2 separate regions of the Homo sapiens genome follow, and region 1 is linked to region 2. The links are contacts of gene promoters, found by promoter capture Hi-C in blood cells and fetal thymus (Javierre and others, 2016). All regions are on one chromosome and are shown on one strand. Each heading gives the region's core, a stretch centred on a gene start or on the middle of the fragment in contact. The rest is flanking DNA. Distances are from core to core; before and after follow the strand shown. Region 1 overlaps LIPT1 (lipoyltransferase 1). Region 2 holds the start of TMEM127 (transmembrane protein 127).

What was found. Contacts are between HindIII fragments. The CHiCAGO score rates a contact against its expected background, and 5 or more counts as called.
Region 1: a fragment that was not itself captured here is called in contact with the fragment with the promoter of TMEM127 in region 2 in 1 of 17 cell types (non-activated CD4 T cells); the score reaches 5.7 in non-activated CD4 T cells.

Annotation. Positions count from the first base shown.
Region 1 is chr2:99,157,483-99,161,801 of GRCh38, reverse strand. The region is part of intron 1 of LIPT1 (lipoyltransferase 1); the gene reads right to left. It also overlaps a transcript of MITD1 not described here. Among named protein-coding and RNA genes, the nearest start is that of LIPT1, 4.7 kb to the right of the region's middle. The HindIII fragment of the contact is 3,184 bases long and covers 966-4,149 here.
Region 2 is chr2:96,263,544-96,268,494 of GRCh38, reverse strand. It overlaps TMEM127 (transmembrane protein 127), which reads left to right and starts at 2,498. Exons shown (of 4, transcript NM_017849.4): 1 at 2,498-2,626; 2 at 2,983-3,357. The coding sequence starts at 3,114. It overlaps CIAO1 (cytosolic iron-sulfur assembly component 1), which reads right to left and starts at 2,270. Exons shown (of 7, transcript NM_004804.3): 1 at 2,006-2,270; 2 at 1,026-1,174; 3 at 759-870; 4 at 571-659; 5 at 1-38. The coding sequence starts at 2,144. RefSeq lists enhancers at 1-1,081, 1,679-1,958, 2,189-2,378 and silencers at 2,609-2,658, 2,669-2,878, 2,929-3,238. The HindIII fragment of the contact is 2,360 bases long and covers 1,336-3,695 here.

The DNA of each region.
Region 1 (4,319 bases), core at 1,308-3,807, 2.9 Mb before region 2:
TATAACCAAGTATTCAAAAGAAATAAATGAAGACAAATTTCAAATAATTTCAGTTGAAATAATTTCACAGTTTTCAAACAATAAGTCTGCTGCAAATACATTATGTAATATATCTTTTTTTTTTCTCTTACAGACAGGATTTCACCATGTTGCCCAGGCTGGTCTCAAACTCCTGGGCTCAAGCAGTCCTCCCACCTTGGCCTCCCAAAGTGCTGGGATTACAGGCATGAGCCACTGCACTCAGCCACATTACCTATATCTTAAAGCCAAATTATGTTGAATTCACAAGTAACAAATGTTCATCGAGAAAAATGAGAAAATACAGACAAGCAAGAAGAAAAAAATAAAAGCATTGATAGTCCTAATCACAATTAACATTTTGGTGTAAACCCATTTTATTTCTAAGCATGTATACGCACACACATTTCCCTCCCCATACTATTATTTCATTCGACATTCAATCTATATATATATATATATATATATATATATATATATATATATATATATTTTTTTTTTTTTTTTTTTTTTTTTTTTTTTTTTTTTTTTTGAGACGGAGTCTCGCCCTGTCACCCAGGCTGGAATGCTGTGGCGTGATCTTGGCTCACCGCAACCTCCGCCTCCCAGGTTCAGGCGATTCTCCTACCTCACTGGGATAACAGACGCCTGCCACCACGTGTGGCTAAATTTTGTATTTTTAGTAGGCATGGGGTTTCACCATGTTGGCCATGCTGGTCTTGGAACTCCTGACCTCAGGTGATCTGCCCGCCTCAGCCTCCCAAAGTGCTGGGATTACAGGCATGAGCCACCGCGTTGGCCCATTAAATCTATTTTGCATCAGCTTTAATGACTGTTTAATATTCCATTGTTAACAAGTTTACTCAGTCTCTTAGTCTGTAATTTTAGGTGGCTTCTAGTTTTTCTGGTTATCAACGATGTGTTCATGAACATTTCCGTGGAAAGCTTTCATTATGTCTTTATAACACTTTAAAAATAATTTCCTGTTTGACTTTGGGATATATGATTTACTGGCAGCATAACTTTTATTTAGATCAATATTAACTTAGGATGAACCCTTGAGGTCAGAGAGAGAGGCAACTGGGAGTATGCAGGTTTATATACAAAGGCTAAGAATAAATTCACTATGTTTGGATGCTTTCCACATTATTCATGTTACCATTGCTAATGAAATATTAGGCAGCAAAAGGTTGAAAATACTAGCTATGAAAATGAAGTATTTTGATTACTTATGGTCTTAAATCATTCTATTCCAATTCTATTTCTTAGAATATAATTTTCCTTCAGGTTGAAGAACTGGGAATAGAATGGATTATTAAAGTGTATAACTTGAGGTTAAGAGTTTGGTTCTAAATAAAGAAAGTTCATAACTAGGTAGCTAGGCTTTTTTATTTTTTATTTTTAAGACAGGGTATCACTCTGTAATTGTCTCACTGCAGCCTCGACCTCCTGGGCTCAAGCAATCTCCACATCTCAGCCTCTGAAGCAGCTGGGACTACAGGTATGCGCCACCATGCCTGGCTAATTTTTAAATTTTTTGTAGAGATGGGGGTCTCCCTACGTTGCCTAGGTTGATCTTGAACTCCTGGGCTTCAGTGATCCTCCTGCCTCAGCCTCCCAAAGTGCTGGGATTATAGGCATGGGCCACTACACCTGGCCCCAAATCATTTAGTTAAGTAATATCTTAGAAGTACAATTCTAGATTAAAGAGTCTTCATATTTTCATCACTCTTGTTGTAGTTTATAAACTAACCTACAAAAAGTTGAATCAGTTTACATTCTGTCTAGAAAGGTGTGGAGAGGTTTAATAGAGGAAGGAATACTTGAACTGAGTCACCAAATCTGATAAGTTTGCCAGGTCGAGGAGCATATTCCAGGCATATGCAAAGACAAAGAGTCATCTAATAGTAAGGTATGTTTGGGGATTCCCTCCTAAGAGAAAGAGTTACACTACTAGTCTTCGACTTCCACTTAAGCCTATGGCTATACTGTCCTAGGAAGCCTCGCAACCGAGACTGCATTACTTTGGTTAACCTCTTTGTTCTTGGTTCTGCTTGACTGACTTTGACACAGTACCATATTCATTCAACAAGTATTTATGGAGTTCCTACTAGGTACAAGGTAATAAGGAGATAGAAAATGGGAGGAGATAAATTCATGTAATGAACCAAAATATTTGGACTTTTTAAAAGGCAGCTAAGATCCACTGAAGTGTTAAGCAGGAAGTGTTAACTCAGCTGTTATACGAATCTGCCTCTGCAGGGTTGAGTATGGATTAAATAAAGGATGGACTAGGGACAGGGGGAACAGTTAATGGACTAAGGCAGTTGTCCATGCTAGAGATAATGAGGGCCTAAAGTACGGTAGGAGAGAGAGAGAGAGAGAAGGGGATGGATATGAGTGACATTAAGAAGGTGAACTGGCCGGGCGCAGTGGCTCATGCCTGTAATCCCAGGACTCTGGGAGGCCGAGGCAGGCGGATCACGAGGTCAGGAGATCGAGACCATCCTGGCTAACACAGTGAAACCCCGTCTCTACTAAAAATACAAAAAATTAGCCGGGCATGGTGGCAGGTGCCTGTAGTACCAGCAGCTCTGGGAGGCCGAGGCAGGCGGATCACGAGGTCAGGAGATTGAGACCATCCTGGCTAACACAGTGAAACCCCGTCTCTACTAAAAATACAAAAAATTAGCCGGGCATGGTGGCGGGCGCCTGTAGTCCCAGCAGCTCTGGAGGCTGAGGCAGAAGAGTGGTGTGAACCCGGGAGGCGGAGCTTGCAGTGAGCCGAGATCGTGCCACTACACTCCAGCCTGGGCGACAGAGCAAGACTCCGTCTAAAAGAAAAAAAAAGAAAAGAAGGTGAACCTGTCCTTGCCTTCAAGAAACAAGTACCTCCACAATCTAGTGGGAGATACTAAAAAACAAGTAAGGCAATAATTAAAATACAGTGTCCTAAATGCTGTGATAGGTGTTAAGTACAGTAGAGCGCCATCTAATGCTCTAATTAGTGGATGTGACATTGAAGCTGAGACATAAAAGGGATAAAGAAAAGAATTCTAACAATGTGCAACAGCTTAGTGGAAAAGGAGATAGGACCCATGCAAATAATTTAATTCTACTGGCTGGTTATTAGGAATACAAGAATGGGGAGTTAATAAGAAGGCAAGAGAAGTAGATGTTAGATTATAAAGAACCTTAAATCCAAGTGAAATGCTTGAACTTTATTGCCCAGGATGGAGTGCAGTGGTGTGATCACGGCTCACTGCAGCCCCGACCTCCTGGGCTCAAGCAATCCTCCCCCTTTAGCCAGCATGTGCCACCACGCCTGGCTATTTTTTTTTTTTTTTTTTTTTTGTAGAGATGAATCTCACTTTGTTGTCCAGGCTGGTCTCAAACTCCTGGGCTCAAGCAGTCCTCCTGCCTTGGCCTCCTAAAGCACTCGGATTACAGGCATGAAGGCTTTGGATTTATACTTCAGGGACACCGCCTAGAGATTTTAAGCATGGAGAATGTACAATACTTGGCAATAGGTTGAATTAGGGTGAGAGAAAGAGAAGTCAAGCATCATGTCCTTTATGATATAATGATTACAAGCTCAAACCAGAGTGCCCTCATTCAAATCCCAACTCTATCCTTTATCAGTTGAATGACCTAAGGCAGATTACTTTTCTATGTCTCAGATTTGTTATCTAATATGTGGATAATGACAGGACTCATCTCATATTATCAGGCTGAGTCTGATGAGCTAATACATATAAAGTGGTTAGAAGAGTGCCTGGCACTGAAGAAAGTACACAATATGTGCTAACTATTTTATTAATATTATGCCCTGATTTCTGGCCTGGCAAAGAGGTGAAATTTCCTAGGACAGATTTTATAGGAAGAGGAAGTATGGGGTTAAGATAATTGGTTCATTTTGACTGTTGAACTAGCGGCCAACGGCACAGAGCTCAATGGATGGTAACTGAGGCCACAGGAAGGTGGTTCAGTGAGAAGATTTAAGGGCCTGCGACATAAGACTGAAGAGCAGCAACATTTAACGGACATACAGAAGAAGGAGGGAGAGCTCCCAAAGGAAGCTGAGGATAGAAGAAAAGGCAGAAAAATTTTAAATATGCTATTATGGAAGCTTCAAGGAGACAAGATGGTCAACAGTGCCAAATGCCAAAGATTGAGCAAATAAGATGAGGGTTGAAAAGGATCTATTAAACAGTATCAAGAAGGTTATCAGTGATCTTGGTAAGAACCAGATGTACTGAGTAAATAGGAGGCCCAAGGTGGATACAATGAGGGTATTCTAG
Region 2 (4,951 bases), core at 1,249-3,748:
AGCTTCACTGTGTCATCATAGCTGGCAGAAGCTAAGAGCTGGGGGAAGAGTGAAAGGAAACCCAACATGTGTCTGTGTGGCCCAGGAAGCAAAGGACAGGTCAGTTCCAGGTATCTGCTTTTATTTTATTTTATTATTTATTTGAGATGAAGTTTGCTGTTGTTGCCCAGGCTGGAGTGCAATAGCACGATCTCGGCTCACCGTAACCCCCGTCTCCTGGGTTCAAGTGATTCTCCTGCCTCAGCCTCCCGAATAGCTGGGATTACAGGCATGTGCCACCATGCCCGCTAATTTTGTATTTTTAGTAGAGACGGAGTTTCACCATGTTGGCCAGGCTGGTCTCGAACTCCTGACCTCAGATGATCCACCCACCATGGCCTCCCAAAGTGCTGAGATTATAGGTGTGAGCCACCACACCCAGCCGGATCTGTTTTTATAAAGGGACTAATGTTTTTTGTTCACAGATGGAACTCTCCGTAAAAGCTAGATTAAGGCTGAAAAGCAGAGGAAGGCTGGGCACAAGCCTGCACACCAGAGCCCTTCCCACAAGAGTCCCTGCTTGACTCTTACCTCCTGACTTGGGTGCCAAACCACATGCTTGACATCCTGTGTGTGGGAGTTGAGAACACTGACACATTCATACTCATCCTCTTCATCAACTGTGGGAGAGAAAAAGGGGACCCAAGAGCCGACCCTGTCAGGGACACAGAGGGGGCTGTCAGGTGGTTCCCAATCCACCTGGAGGGACCTGGCCTCACCTTCCCAGACCCAAACGCTCTTATCTCGGCTGCAAGTGGCCAGGAGGTTGCCAGATGGGGCCCAAGCCACTGACTTGACCTCATTTTCATGGCCCTCGAGAGTGGTTACACACTGTGAAAGGGGAAAGAAAATGAGAATTAACAGCAGCTAACACCCCTAAGCCCCTTCCCATGGGTACAGCCCAACTGGCGCAGGTTGGCTCAGGTTCCTGAACCAGCCCTGGGGAGGAAACAGGCAATAATTCTGGTCCCAACCAGCCTGGGTACCTCAAAGTCATCCTGGTTCTTCTTCCAAATGCAAGTGGTAGCATCAAAGCTGGCAGAGGCCAGGTAATTACCGCAGGGGGACCAGGCTACCTTCCGCACGGTGCGCTGGTGGCCTTCAGAAAGGACAGACTTGCAGATCCAGCTGTCACCTAAAGGCGGAGCGCAGGCCAGGCTCTGGAGCTGGGTGCAGCACCATGAAGCCATTCAATATCAGGGGCTAGCACTGGAATCAAGCTAGTGGGGGAAAGCTCAGGGAGTGTATTTCACAGCTTTTACAAAGATGCAAATGAATCTACTTCGTCTGGAAGCTTTTTTTTTTTTTTTTTTTTTTTTTTGAGACGGAGTTTTTGCTCTGATGCCCAGGCTGGGGTGCAATGGCACAATCTCGGCTCACTGCAATCTTCGCCTCCTGGGTTCAAGGGATTCTCCTGCCTCAGCCTCCCGAGTAGCTGGGATTACAGGTGCCCGCCACAACGCCCAGCTAATTTTGTAGTTTTAGTAGAGACGGGGTTTCACCATGTTGGCCAGGCTGGTCTTGACCTCTTGACCTCAGGTGATCTACCCGCCTCTGCTTCCCAAACTGCTAGGATTACAGGCGTGAGCCACCGCGCCCAACCTCTGGAGGCATCTTTCTAAAACAAATCTGATCTAAAATTGCTATTGGTTCCCCAATGCCCTCGGGATAAAATGTGACCATCCAGTCGCAAGTTACTCTGAAGGCCACTTTCCTAACACCTCTCTTTTCCCATTTTCCTGCCTCTGCAGCTAACACAATTCCCTTGACATTTCAGCTTGTCTGCTGACGTTTTTCCTCCCAACAGTCGCAGACTTCTTTGCCTGTAAAGCCCTTCTCGGCGTGGCTAACATCCCACTCTCCCTCCGCCAGGAACAGGTTCAGCCTCCCCTGCAGGCTGAGCGCCTGCACTACGCGCAGGCTGAGCCCTCAGCGCTGAGGGCCGCGCAACCAGGCTGGGCCTTACCCTCCGTGCCCCAGATGCGGATTCTCCGGTCGCCGCCGCACGAGGCCAGCAGGGTCCCCGCGGGGTTCCAGGCCAGGAACCAGCAGCGGGAGTCCGGGTGCGCCGGGACACGGCCCAGCAGCACCAGCGAGTCCTTCATGTCGGCCCGACGCAGGGGGAGGTGGGGGCGGGCAGAGTCCGCTGAGCAGACAGCGGGTCTCACCGCGCGCGTCTGCGTACCGCCCACTCCAGGCTTCCGCGGCCGACAGAGGCTCCCGCTTCCGCCGGAGGACCTGGGTCGCCCCGGAAACTCAACTGCCCACTGCTGCGGCCGCCATACCCTCTGGGAGTTGTAGTCGCTCCCCTCACCTCGGCAGGGAAAGCATCGCGGGACCGCCTCGAACTACCAGTCCCGTGAGGCCCTGCGCAGAGCCGGCGGCGCGCCCAGGCTGTGACGCGCGCGGGGGACGGGGCGGGGAGCCGGAGGAGGCGGAGGCAGAGGAGGAGGAAGCCGGAAGTGCATCGGCCCCGGGTCTGTCCGGGCGTTGCGGGATTGGGGCCTGGGAACGCTCGGCCCCCGGCAGCCGAGAAGCCCGTGACTGGGCTGAGCAGCACCATCCCAGCCCTGGGGCCTGCTGACTGGTGAGGAACAGTGGGCGGCGTGGGGAGGGTCTTTTCTGCGCACAGGTCGCACCCCAAACCGCCGGTCCCAGATCACGGGTCCCCGATCCCCGCGGCCCAGCCCGGTCCTCCGCCCCTCGGCATCCTCTGGCTGAGACCCTGACTCCGGGTCTTTGCTCTAGCAGTAGCCGATCCCCGATCCCTCCGCCCCCCACTCGAGTCTGCCCAGACCCCATCTGGCCCCTGGCCCTCTTCGGTTGTCGTCCCGCAGTCCCATTCCGGAGTCTCCTGTCTCCGCCCCCCGAATTCCCGCAGCCCTCCCCGTCTCCGTCAGCCCCGGGTCCCACCCCCCTATCCTCTGGTGTCAACCCTGACAGCCCAGTCCCGGCTTCACCTGCAGCGAACCCGGAGCGTTGCTATCCTCCACCGGACTGTCAGGCTCTGCGCGCCCCGCGGAGGTCGGCGGCGACCAGCAGCGACTGCGGAGCGACGGCGGGCGGCCCCGGGCATGTACGCCCCCGGAGGCGCAGGGCTGCCCGGCGGGCGCCGGCGGAGGAGCCCGGGAGGCAGCGCTCTGCCCAAGCAGCCGGAGCGTAGCCTGGCCTCGGCCCTGCCTGGCGCCCTGTCTATCACGGCGCTGTGCACTGCCCTCGCCGAGCCCGCCTGGTTGCACATCCACGGAGGCACCTGTTCGCGCCAGGAGCTGGGGGTCTCCGACGTGTTGGGCTATGTGCACCCGGACCTGCTGAAAGGTGAGGGTGCTGCGCGCTGGCCCTTAAAGCCTCGGTGGGGGACAGAATGTGTTCTGGCTGAAGCAGAGATAGCCAGGGACCAGACACTTGGTTGAAGGAAACGGCCCCATAACTGCCTGGTGTTCATGCCCACCAGGTGGCTCTGTTTGGGGTCCGGCCCCTCATTAATTCTGATGTTATTCAGCTAAGCACCTACTCCTCACAGCCATGTTAATCCGGACTGCTGCTATTTTAGGATTCTGCTGGAGGAAGGACGCTGTGTATCGAGAAAAGATAAGGGTGCTAGGTATCACAGTTAGCTGGCCTCTTCTAAGGATCCTGTGAAATACGGAAAAGCTTCTTTGGGGCAGACTGATTAATGGAGAAAAAGGAACTTTTAATATGACTAGGTTTTAAAAGATATCTTAGAGTTCTATGGTAATCGGATGCGTATTAGAGAAGAAGGGAATCTGTGGCATTTTAGGTAATCGGAAGACCGTTCCATTGCCACCCGCAGTACAACAGTCGGAATGTGGCTCTTGGAACCATTATAGGTGTGCCTGACAGAGGCAAGGTTGCTTTGTTCATCATCATGCTTTCCGGCCAGATAGACAGCAGACGATGGGAGGGTCCTATGGGCCCCATAGTTTATCCTGCCCATTCTTGTCTCCAGTAAAAATTGTGAAGTGTGAGGACAGGACTGGACTGTATCACCTGCTTTTTACCCTAACAATGATCAATGTACCCCAAACAGTCCTTAGTAACAGCATAGTTCATCAACCCCAAGGTCTTTTGAGCCATCTTGAAGGTCTTATATCCTCTCTGTGCTATCCTGTCTGTGCTATTCCCTGGCTGTGATGCATTCCAGATGTTTACTGCACCGCCTATCAGAAGCACTTCCTGTTAGATATCTGCGTGTTACCTCCTGAAGAATTCAGGCACTGGGATTTGGTGAAAAGGTCCAAGTTCCCCGCTGTGCATCGGACCATACTCTGCTTCTGCAGGTCTAGGCTGAAAAGCCTCATCCTTGTGGCCAAATGTTGCCTTTCTCTGAGTGTTCTCTTACTGTTTTGCATCTCTCTTGAGTTTTAGAAGCTGTAGGGTGATTTTGTAGAAGGTTGGGGACAACTGGTTGTTTCCAGATTTCACCTTAATGGTACTCTTTGCTGGGTTGGCTCATTAAAGCCAAAGTTATGCACACGACAGAGGCCTTATATGCAGCCTTTTCTCTGTCATGTTGCTAATGGCACAAAGAGCATTAAGCTTGAGTGAGTCTTGGTGGTTTTTCTTTTAGCACATTGCCCTGTACTTGCTTTCTTTGAAGCACACATACCACCTTCCCACCACTAGACCCATCAGATCTAGAAAGCTAGATCTCCGAAATCTAGCACTGCATGGGGTGTGCTTAGCTGTGGCTCAGAAAAATGAAGGATCTCCCCAAGGCTACCCAGTTTAGGGTGGCAGAGCTGGGACTACCCCACCTCTGTTGATGCCAATATAAAATGATGCCGTGTCATTTATAGTTTTTATCCTTTGTTTTACTTCAGCTGTCATAAGGAGCAATCTCATAATTATTTCACTTTGGTGTGCATCCTTGTCGAAGGCATGTTAAAAA